3 separate regions of the Homo sapiens genome follow, and all the other regions are linked to region 3. The links are contacts of gene promoters, found by promoter capture Hi-C in blood cells and fetal thymus (Javierre and others, 2016). All regions are on one chromosome and are shown on one strand. The core of a region is centred on a gene start or on the middle of the fragment in contact, and the rest is flanking DNA. Distances in the headings are between cores, read along the strand shown.

The links. Contacts are between HindIII fragments. The CHiCAGO score rates a contact against its expected background, and 5 or more counts as called.
Region 1: a contact is called between a fragment that was not itself captured here and the fragment with the promoter of PCDHB4 in region 3, in 1 of 17 cell types (M0 macrophages). The highest score is 6.2, in M0 macrophages.
Region 2: a contact is called between a fragment that was not itself captured here and the fragment with the promoter of PCDHB4 in region 3, in 1 of 17 cell types (M0 macrophages). The highest score is 6.5, in M0 macrophages.

Annotation. Positions count from the first base shown.
Region 1 is chr5:140,891,398-140,894,984 of GRCh38, reverse strand. All of the region lies in intron 1 of PCDHA1 (protocadherin alpha 1), which reads right to left. The region is part of intron 1 of PCDHA2 (protocadherin alpha 2); the gene reads right to left. All of the region lies in intron 1 of PCDHA3 (protocadherin alpha 3), which reads right to left. The region is part of intron 1 of PCDHA4 (protocadherin alpha 4); the gene reads right to left. It also overlaps PCDHA5, PCDHA6, PCDHA7, PCDHA8, PCDHA9 and PCDHA10, and 4 more genes. Among named protein-coding and RNA genes, the nearest start is that of PCDHA13, 11 kb to the right of the region's middle. The HindIII fragment of the contact is 1,307 bases long and covers 1,278-2,584 here.
Region 2 is chr5:140,934,837-140,938,672 of GRCh38, reverse strand. All of the region lies in intron 1 of PCDHA1 (protocadherin alpha 1), which reads right to left. All of the region lies in intron 1 of PCDHA2 (protocadherin alpha 2), which reads right to left. All of the region lies in intron 1 of PCDHA3 (protocadherin alpha 3), which reads right to left. The region is part of intron 1 of PCDHA4 (protocadherin alpha 4); the gene reads right to left. It also overlaps PCDHA5, PCDHA6, PCDHA7, PCDHA8, PCDHA9 and PCDHA10, and 5 more genes. Among named protein-coding and RNA genes, the nearest start is that of PCDHAC1, 10 kb to the right of the region's middle. The HindIII fragment of the contact is 499 bases long and covers 1,699-2,197 here.
Region 3 is chr5:141,120,470-141,124,013 of GRCh38, reverse strand. It overlaps PCDHB4 (protocadherin beta 4), which reads right to left and starts at 2,196. Exons shown (of 1, transcript NM_018938.4): 1 at 1-2,196. The coding sequence starts at 2,015. It also overlaps PCDHB@. The HindIII fragment of the contact is 8,854 bases long and covers 1-3,544 here.

The DNA.
Region 1 (3,587 bases), core at 682-3,181, 230 kb after region 3:
TCACAAAGTAAGACATTAAAAAATTATATTTTTATCATTTCATGACAATAGCTGAATAGAAATCTATAGAGCAACAAAGATAGGAAAATTATCCTGGTCTGTTTCTTCTAAAATTATGGGGGAGCACTTTTCATATAAAAATGAGCATAAGAAAAGGATTATGGGCAAATCTGATATAAAATTATTTTTAAAGGAGAGGACAAATAATTACACTAAAGGAAATAAATACACACAAGAAAAAAAATTCCACAAATTGCTACGTAATATTTGAAAACAACTTAAACATTTTTAGAAAATAATGAAAAGCTATGCAAGAATACACAAATCAGAATTAGAGAGACTCAGTAATGATATGATTGGAGAAGAAAAGCTTTGAAAAGAGAGATGAGAAAACTCAGTAAAATATTAAAAAAAAGGAAAATAATTTTTTCAGAAGTAAACACTAAACCAGAAGGCACATAACAGCATATAAACACTATGGATAATGCCTAAAGAAAACTATAAGATGAAAACAAGAATAAAAAGTAAAATATTTTTTAAAAAAGAGCTAGGTAGGATTTAGGAGTGTTAGCTACAAAAGAAAAGCAAAGAATATCTAATACAAATATAATTGGAGCCATTGAAGAAGAAATCTGAAGTAATAAAACAGAAGAAATACTAAAATCTATAATTTAAGAAAACTTTCCAGGAAAATAAACTTCAAAAATACTTGTAAATAAGCTACCACTTGTAAAGAAAAGAAAATTACATTGTCATTCAACATCTTTAAAATGAGAATATAATAGCATAGAAAAAATATATAACTATGGAAAGAAAGTCAAAATCAGGGATAATTACATAGAAGGGAATTATTTCAAGTTATTTGAAACTTCTCATCTGCAACACCAGGAGCTAGAAGATACTGGAATAAAATAAATGTATTTAAAAATCAATTCAACAGAGGACTTACATTACCAGTATGCAGAACTGGTAATTTGAACCAACCATACAATTGGAGATATTTTAAAATTATAAAAGTATCTAATGACTAATAAAGTCATGCAGAATTAACAGGTAGAGATTCTGAAAAAGACCACAAATTCAGAAGGTAAAGTAACTTTCTGGCCACTTTGGATCTGGGTTGTTTCTATACAAGAGGTAGGGCATCAGGATGGCTGAGTAGTCTACGGTACCAGACTCAAGACAAGGAGGGAATTCTAAAAACGGTAAAAGAAAAGTGACAAGTCACCTATAAGAAAATTCCCATCAGACTAACAGCAGATTTCTCAGCAGAAGCTTTACAGGCTAGGATAGAATGAGATGATATATCCAAAGTGCTGAAATTTTTTAAAACTATCAGCCAAAAATACTATACCAAGCAGAGCTATACTTCAGAAATGAAGGAGAAATAAAGTATTTCCCAAACAAGCAAAAACTGAGGAAGTACACTACAACTAGATAAGTCCTACAAGAAATACTTAAAGGAGTTCTACAACTGCTTTTTTTTTCTTTTTTGTGAAGAACAGGGTCTTGCTATGTTGCCCAGGCTGGTCTTGAACTCCTGGCTTCAAGCGATCTTCCTGCCTCTGCCTCCCTAAGTGCTGGGATTACAGGCATGAGCCACTGTCCCATAAATGCTGTTGGTGGGCATGTAAATTAGCACTGCCACTAAGGAAAACAGTATGGGAGTCCCTCAAAAAACTACAAATAGAACTACCATATCATCCAGCAATTCCACTATTGGGCATTTATCCAAAGAAAAGGAAACCAGTATGTCAAAGTGATACCTGCACCTCCCATACTTACTGCAGCACTATTCACAATAGCTACTATGTGGAATCAACCTCAATATCCATCAACAGATGAGTGGATAAAGAAAATGTGGTGTATATGCACAACGGAATATTATCCAGCCATAAAAAAGAATGAAATCCTGTTATTCATGGCAGTATGGCTGAGCCTGGAGGGCATATGTTAAGTGAAATAAGTCAGGCACAGAAAAATAAATACATGTTCTCACTTATACGGCAGCTACAAAATTTTATTGAGCTCATGGAAGTAGTATTGTGCTTATCAGAGGCTGGGAAGGGTGAAGGAAAAGGAGGATGGGGAAAGGTTGGTTAATGGATACGAAATTATAGCTACACAGGAGGAATGGGTTGTGGTGTTTTGCAGCACTGTAGCACTGTAGGATAAATATGGTTAACTATAATTTCTTACATATTTTCAAGAAGCTAGAAGAGTGGATTTTAAATGTTCACCATGCAAAAATGGTAAATGTTTGAGATTATGAATATGCTAATTACCCTGATTTTATTATTATACATTGTATATATGTATCAAAATGTCACTCTGTATCCTATAAATATGTACAATTATTATGTACCAACTGGAAATAAAAGGAAAAAAATAGGTGAATGAATACTGAGATATACTTTTGACAGTCTCCAAGGACTAGAGAAACAAAAGTCAGAATCCTGAGTCTACCAGTCATGGTGGAACTTCTTAAACAATCTCTCATGTTTGGCTAGGAAACTGAATAACCGTACTTAAAGAATACATGTAAATTTTAGATAATGAGGTTTTATCTAGAATACCTGAAGCTTGAAATAGATTAAGATTACCCATGATTGCTAGTGCCCCAAGATGCCTGGCAAAAGTCAATTAAAATCCATTCTGGAGAAAGAAAATGTTATAAGCCCCAAATTATTTCCAGGAAGAAGTGTTTAATACAACTTTCAGCACAAAATCAAAGATAACCAGGTTTATGTGGAGACAAAACACCATAAAGATACAATTTTAAAACACACCACAGGAATAGACCCATGAGGATCCCAGTTACTGGACATATCAGAAATAGACGCTAAAACCATGAGCTTATTGTGTTCCAGATATAAATGCCAAGCTTGAAAGTTTCGAGAGGAAACTAGAAATTATACAAAGTAACAATAAATTTGAAAAAGAATAAATAAAAGTATCTTAGACCATTTGTGCTGCTATAACAGAATGCCACAGACTGAGTAATTTATGAGAACGGAAATTTACTTCTCACAATTCTGGAGCCTAGGGGAAGTCCAAGATCAAGGCACCAGCATCTGGTGAAGATCTTCTTGCTGCATCGTCACATGACAGAGCCAAAAGCATAAGAGAGGGACAGGCTCCTTCCATCAAGTCCTTTTACAGTGCCGTTAATTTATTCATGAGGGCAGATCCCTCATAATCTAAACATTTCCTGAAATTCCCCACCTCCCAACACTGTTGTATAAGGGATTGAATTTTCAACACATGAATTTGGGGGTACAAATTCAGACAACAGCAAGAAGAGAGAATTATTAAACTTTAAGGTGGGTGAACTATCCACAATAAAGCCCAAAGAGCAAAAGGTGTTAAAATAAAAGGTAGAAATAGATGGGATAGAGTAATAAGATTAAAATATGTTTAATTAGAGTACTAAAATAATACTATAGAAATACAATGGAACAGAAGCAACATTGGAGAACATTATAGCTGAGGATATGCTCAAAGTGATGTAAAGGCATTAATTCACAAATTCAAAAATCCTATACAATGGACGTTGGGGACTTGGGGGCAAGAGTGGGGGGTGGCGA
Region 2 (3,836 bases), core at 699-3,198, 190 kb after region 3:
TAGGAAACTAAGTCTAATGATATAAAGAAGGATTATACATCATAAGCAACCTGAGTTTATTCCAAGAATGCAAGATTGGTTTATCATTAACAAATCAACCAATATAATGCATGCTATTAATAAAAGGATAAAAATCCATATTATCCATTCAATAACAGAAAATATGTGATAAATTCAATGCCTATTCATGATTTTTAAAAAACATAATAAATTAAAAAACAAAGGGAACTTAATAAATCTGATAAAGGATTTTTGCAAATAAACCCAATCAAACAATGTATTTCATATTAAATATTTAAAAACTTCCTCTCTGAGACCAGGAATAAGACAAGATTATCCATTAACATTACTTCTATTCAATTTTATACTGAATTTCATAGGCAATGACAGAAAGCAAGAAAACTATGTGATTAGAAAGTTTTTAAAAGACCAGGCATGGTGGCCTATGCCTGTAATCCCAGCACTTTGGGAGGCTGGCGTGGGAGGATTGCTTGAGCCCAGGAGCTCCAGACTAGCCTGGGCAATGTAGTGAGACTCTATCTCTATTTTTTTAAAAAAAGAGAGAAAGTAAAAAATACAATAATAAAACTAACATTATTTGGGAATAGCATGACAGTATATGTAGAAAACCCAAAATATAAAAATATGAGATTTTACTATTTAGCAAGAACATTGGATACAAAGTTAACATAAAATCAGTATTATTTCTATATACTTTCAACAAAAGCCAATTATCAAATTAAACTTTTTTTTTTTTTTTTGAGACGGAGTCTCACTCTGTCGCCCAGGCTGGAGTGCAGTGGCGCGATCTCGGCTCACTCCAAGTTCCGCCTTCCAGGTTCATGCCATTCTCCTGCCTCAGCTTCCCGAGTAGCTGGGACTACATACGCCCGCCACCACGCCCGACTAATTTTTTGTATTTTTAGTAGAGACGGGGTTTCACCGTGTTAGCCAGGATGGTCTTGATCTCCTGACCTCGTGATCCGCCTGCCTCAGCCTCCCAAAGTGCTGGGATTACAGGCGTGAGCCACCATGCCCTGCCTTTCTTTTTCTTTTTAGATGGAGTATCACTCTGTTGCCCAGGCTAGAGTGCAGTGACGCGATCCCAGCTCACTGCAACCTCTGCCTCGCAGGTTCAAGCAATTCTCCTGCCTCAGCCTCCTGAGTAGCTGGGATTACGGGTATGTGCCAACATGTCCAGCTAATTTTTGTATTATAAAATTAAACTTTTAAAATAGCATTAAAATATCAGCTATCTAATAAAAGTTGTGCAATACCCCTATATACACATACACACACATAAACATTAAGATAAAATAATAAAATAAATGGAAGAAGCCGGGCGCGGTGGCTCACGCCTGTAATCCCAGCACTTTGGGAGGCCGAAGCGGGTGAATCACGAGGTCAGGAGATCGAGACCATCCTGGCTAACACGGTGAAACCCCGTCTCTACAAAAAATACAAAAAATTAGCCGGGCATGGTGGCGGGCGCCTGTAGTCCCAGCTACTCGGGAGGCTGAGGCAGGAGAATGGCATGAACCCGGGAGGCGGAGCTTGCAGTGAGCCGAGACTGCGCCACTGCACTCCAGCCTGGGCGACAGAGCGAGACTCCGTCTCAAAAAAAAAAAAAAAAGATAAATGGAAGAATATACCTTGTTAATCGGTTGTCTGTCTCAATATTGTCAATGTTAACAAGCTTCATATTTTTATAGATTCAATAAAGATCAAAATAAGATATTTTCAATATACCCCATATTTTCTACAGATTCAATATAGTGCCAATTAAAATCAAAGCAGGGTTTTTTAAAATAGAAACTGAGAAGCTGAATCTACAATTTATATAGAAATGCAAAGGGCCAAAAATAGCTAAGTTAATCTTGAAGCAGAATAACAAAGTGAGAGAACTTACACAATTAGATATCAATACAAATGAAAAGTTACTATATTTAACACAGAATGTATTGGCACAAGAATAGACAAGTTGACCAATGAAACAGAATAGACAGTCCAGAAACAGAATATATAAAGTCACGTTGCTTATGACAAAGGTAGCACTGCACAGTAGCAGCGAGGAAAGTAGGCAATCTAACTGGATTTACAAGTGGAAAATATAAATCTTGACTTCTACATTGCACTATATTCAAAAGCAATTTCAGGTAATTTAAGATCTAAATGTGCAAGTTAAAACAAGAAAGCTTCCAGAACTACAGCAACCACTAAACAGATGTGGTTATTTAAGCTTAAATTAATTAAAATTAGTAACATTAAAAATTGAGTAGCCCAGTTTCACTAGCCACATTTCAAGTGCTCAGTAGCTACACATTCCATATATGCAGATAGAGAAAATTTATAGCATGTCAGAAAGTTCTATTGGATAGCAATGTTATAGAAGAAAACACAGGAATATATCTTCATGACTTGAAGCAGGATATGTTTTCTTTAAAAGGATAGAAAGAATACTAAATAAAAAAGACAACTTTGGCTGGGCGTGGTGGTTTAGGCCTCTAATCCCAGCACTTTAGGAGGCCAAGGCGGGCAGATCACTTAAGGTCAGGAGTTCGAGACCAGCCTGGCCAACATGGTGAAACCCTGTCTCTACTAAAAGTATAAAAATTAGCCGGGTGTGGTGGTGGGTGCCTGTAATCCCCGCTACTCGGGAGGCTGAGGTGGGAGAATCGCTTGAACCCGGGAGGCAGAGATTGCAGTGAGCCAAGATTGTACCACTTTACTCCAGCCTGGGCAACAGAATGAGAATCTGTCTCAAAAAAAAAAAAAAAAGATAATATTGATAAATTGGAGCTCATTAATTGCTAATCAAAAGACACCATTAAGCAGTATGGAATATGTGTAAATACTATACTACTATGAAATAATCTCGTTTATATTTTTAAGTGAAAAAACTCAAAGTGGGGAAGAATGTGTATTGTATGGAATAATAGATACTAGACTTCTCTAAATATATTTTGTTTTATAAGTTTATTTTGGAGCCATGTAAATATTTCACATAATTATAAAAGAAAATTAAAATTTAAAAAGCAAGCCCTAAATTTGAAAGCGACTTGAAAAAAGCCTAGCTCTGTATCTAGCTGGTGGCTTAACTACACAGAGAGGAACTTTTCCAAGATACTTTAAAACACAATAATTTGACTGTACATGCCTACTGGGCATTTGTAAGGATGTGCCTTATAAATGAAAAGAATGACAAAAACTTAAACTGCTACAGTATCATATTATTTCTGTAGTGCTGAAATTGTTTTCTAAGTCCATTGTTTGAGTCCCGTGGGATAACAAATGAGTAATTCTGTTGACGTTAATGAAAACTGGGATTTGACGTATGGGAGAAATAGGAATGTAAGATTGATGAAGTTAAGTAAAAACCTCGGAGTGCTGAACTTTATTAGATTAGTATAAACATGTGATGTATTTTATCTTTTAAAAAATAGACATCCCTTAGCTCAGTAGCTGAAGATACCTAGAAACAGCAACTGACCCAGCAGCAATAAGCACACCTGTTGTTGAGATTATATCTCTAAGTATCATCTTTCACTAAAAATAAGTGAAAGCTCTTTGAAAAATGGCTGATTCTGGGAAAGGAAATGTACAAGATAATCTGAACATCTTGTAATACCAGAAATCAAGGAAGCATTCAAAAGACTATTAAGACTCACATGAAAAGGATTCAGGGTGTTATCACTGGGGAAAAGTGGGTGACAAGCACATGGGATCTCTCTATACTAGTTTTGTAACTTTATGTGAATCCATAATTATTCCAAAATAAAAGGTTTAAAACAAGATACACAAACACACTCACAAAGACTCAGGAGCAAAGCTGAACA
Region 3 (3,544 bases), core at 947-3,446:
AGAGGCAGGTAGGGCTGGGAGAAGCCATCCACCAGGAGCACGTGCAGCGTGGCGGTGGCCGAGCGCGGAGGCTCGCCATTGTCCTTGACAAGCACCACGAGCCTGTGCTTGGCTGCGTCGCGCTCGCTCAGCAGCCTGGCGGTGCGCACCTCGCCATTGTGCGCCCACACGCCGAACAGCCCAGGCTCCGTGGCCTTGAGCAGCTGGTACGACAGCCAGGCGTTCTGGCCCGAGTCGCCGTCCACCGCCACCACCTTGGTCACCAGGTAGCCCGGCTCGGCCGCCCGGGGCACCAGCTCGGTGCAGGGCGCGGAGCCATTCTGCAGCGGGTACAGCACGAAGGGCGAGTTGTCGTTGGTGTCCAGCACCAGCACGCGCACCAGCGCCTCGCTGCTCAAAGCCGGAGAACCGCGGTCTGAGGCGCCCACGCGGAACTCGAACGCCTGCAGGGCCTCGTAGTCCAGCGACCTGAGGGCGAACAGGTGGCCGTTGTCTGCGTTGATGGAGACCAGGGAGGCGAGGGGCAGGTGCGGGTCCTGGGGCGGCAGCAGCGAGTAGGTGACCTGGGCGTTGGTGCCCGAGTCTCTGTCTGTGGCGCTGACACTGCCGATGTGCAGGGCGGGGCTGTTGTTCTCGCGGACGAACAGGGTGTAGGAGGTTTGGGTGAAGGCGGGGGCGTTGTCATTGACGTCGGAGACCTGCACGGTTATGTTCTGCTGGGTTTTCAGCCTGGGTGTCCCCAAGTCAGTGACGGCGATGGTGATGTTGTACTCAGCGCTGGTCTCTCGGTCCAGTGGTCTCTCTGTTACCAGGGTGTAAAAATTCTTCAAAGTTGGTTTTAGAATAAACGGTAGATTATCTGGAATAGAGCAAATCATCTTTCCATTTTCTCCGGAATCTCTATCTCGAATTCGGAAGATAGAGACTACCGTCTCAGGAGCATTTTCTGGGATGGAGCTGGTGAGTGAAGATATGATAAGTTCTGGGGGATTGTCATTCACATCCACCACCTCTATGACTACAGTGCCTTTTCCAGAAAGGCCTCCTCCATCTGTGGCCTCAATTTCTACATGGTAAGATTTAATTTTTTCGAAATCCAATTTTTTTTTCAACAGTATTTCTCCCGTGACTTCATTTATTGAGAAAGTTTGTTTAATTTCATCTGATGCTTGGAATAAGCCATAAGAAACACTCCCGAAGTTTCCAGCATCTATATCTCTAGCTAAGACCCTAACAATTGGAGAGTCTAGGGGGCTGTTTTCCAGGACCTGCACCCCATATGGAGTGTGCACAAACTCAGGAGCATTGTCATTGATGTCCATGATCAGGATTCGAACCATGACCGTGCCAGACCTAGGTGGTGACCCACCATCCAGCGCCACGAGGGTTAAGCTGAACTCAGGCTGCTCCTCTCGATCCAGTGGTTTGTCCTGCACCAAATCTGGGTATTTCTTGCCCTCACTATGATTTCGAGTGAGAATGTGAAAATGAGAATTGGGGCTGATTGTGTATTTTTGAAGACCATTGCTGCCCACATCCAAATCCTCAGCTATTAGCAACGGAAATAGAGTACCCGGCTGGCTATTTTCTAGTATTTTCAAGAGCACTTCCCTTTCAGGGAATATTGGAGAGTGATCATTTATGTCCTGGATCAATAATTCTCCTTGAAAAAATTGCACCGGCATTTCCAGGAACACTTGGAAATGCAGTACACACGGTTCAATAGGACCACAGAGCTCTTCCCGGTCTAGTTTCTCCCTCAGAAGCAAATCTCCAGTCTGACGATCCAGCTGCAAACGCTGCTTGTCATCGTCAGACAGCACCCGGGCTGACCGGGAGGCCAGTTCCCCAATTCCCAGGCCCAGATCCTTGGCCAGATGGGCTACAAAGGAGCCGCTCTCTGTTTCCTCCAACACAGAATAACGAATAGGCTCGAGGCGAACCTGAGACAAGAACACCATCAAAATAAAGGCCAACACTTGCCTGTTTGGATGAATTCTCCCTAGCTTCTTCATGTTGGAGTCCAGGTCCCTATATCCAATCCCCTCAGCAACCGCAACGAGACTTGAGACATTCAATTCCAATTTCTTGCTTGGAGGAATCGTCACACAGTTGCTTTTAATATTAAATTTGTTTAGTATATCGCTGCCCCAAGCCGTTGGTAAACCTGCACTGCTTGTAACGCTTCTTCCGTGTGTTTTTGATTGCGTCTAGCGACACAGAAGAATACGCGCGAGCTTTTTAGGGCTCATTATTCACAACTTAGCCTGCAGCGCCACCCTGCGTCTTGATTGAGAAATTAACAACTTCAAGACAACGTATTTGGGAAGTTTTAAAATAAAAGCCATTTTTAAGAGCATAGAATTTTTACAAACTTTGTTACATTAAACTGCATAATTTAAAAGGTTATTTAATTACAGTGCACGAACCAGAATAATCATGAGCACAAATCAAGAAGATATCTCAGACTCCCCACACGCTTATCAGTGAAACTTCAAAGAACTCCATTTCTTCTTTACATAATCCAGCCACAGGAGACAAATTTTTATACACTTTCAATTCAATTCTTAGTAGTTATAAATGTTCTTTTCTAAGAATGTGAGGACTTTGTGATGATGCAAAAGTTTAAGATGTTCTCTATACATGGTCTAAAGCGCGACTACCTTTGAAACGAAAGGTTCTATTTTCCTACTTTAATGTGCAAATAGTAATACAGGTGAATAGACAGGTATCTTGTTTTGTATCAAGTAATTTATAGTGTGAACCTACATTGAACCTAGGAGTAAGGCAAATAGTATTAGAATCACAGATTCTTAGAACTAAAGAGGAAATAAAAGATAAGGAAACTAAAACTGAAGCTCAGAGGGTAACAGGACTTGATTATTCTATGTGACTATTATGAGGATAATGTCAAGACAAAAGTGAGTAACAGTCACAGAATTTTGTGAAGATAAAGGCTTTAAGCTGAGCTTATTTAGCAAGATAGATGTAATCTATATTTTACAATGAGTTTGCCTGTTACCACACTCACCTTTTGTATCCCAGATATCATATTCCTTGACCAGCTAATTTTGGGGAAAACAAGAAGCACTGATTTAAAATATTTTATTCTGTGACCAAAGGGTGACTTAGGCTGTCTCTACTCAGATATGGTGAAGTAAAGAGACTTGTGTATAAAATGGATCCCACCACAGTGTGTAGCTACTGTGATTACTCTCAAACAATAAGAAAGAATGGTACCACTGAGACACAGTTAACCAATTTATTGGTTGCAATTAATACACTGAATGGAGCACCACTTATCTTGCCACATATAAGATTTTCTCCCCTTAAATATCTTGTTATTTTATTTAGTTATCCAATTCATATAAGTAATTATAATTTATAATTCATGTTAAATTAATTCTTTTTAAAGCATGAAATCTGAGATTTCAGATTCTGATAGTGATAGAAAGTATTAGTAAAAATTGTGAAAGATACATGGATTTTATTTAGTAAATACCAGTTGAATTAATAAATTAATCCACTCAAATGATGTTTTTAT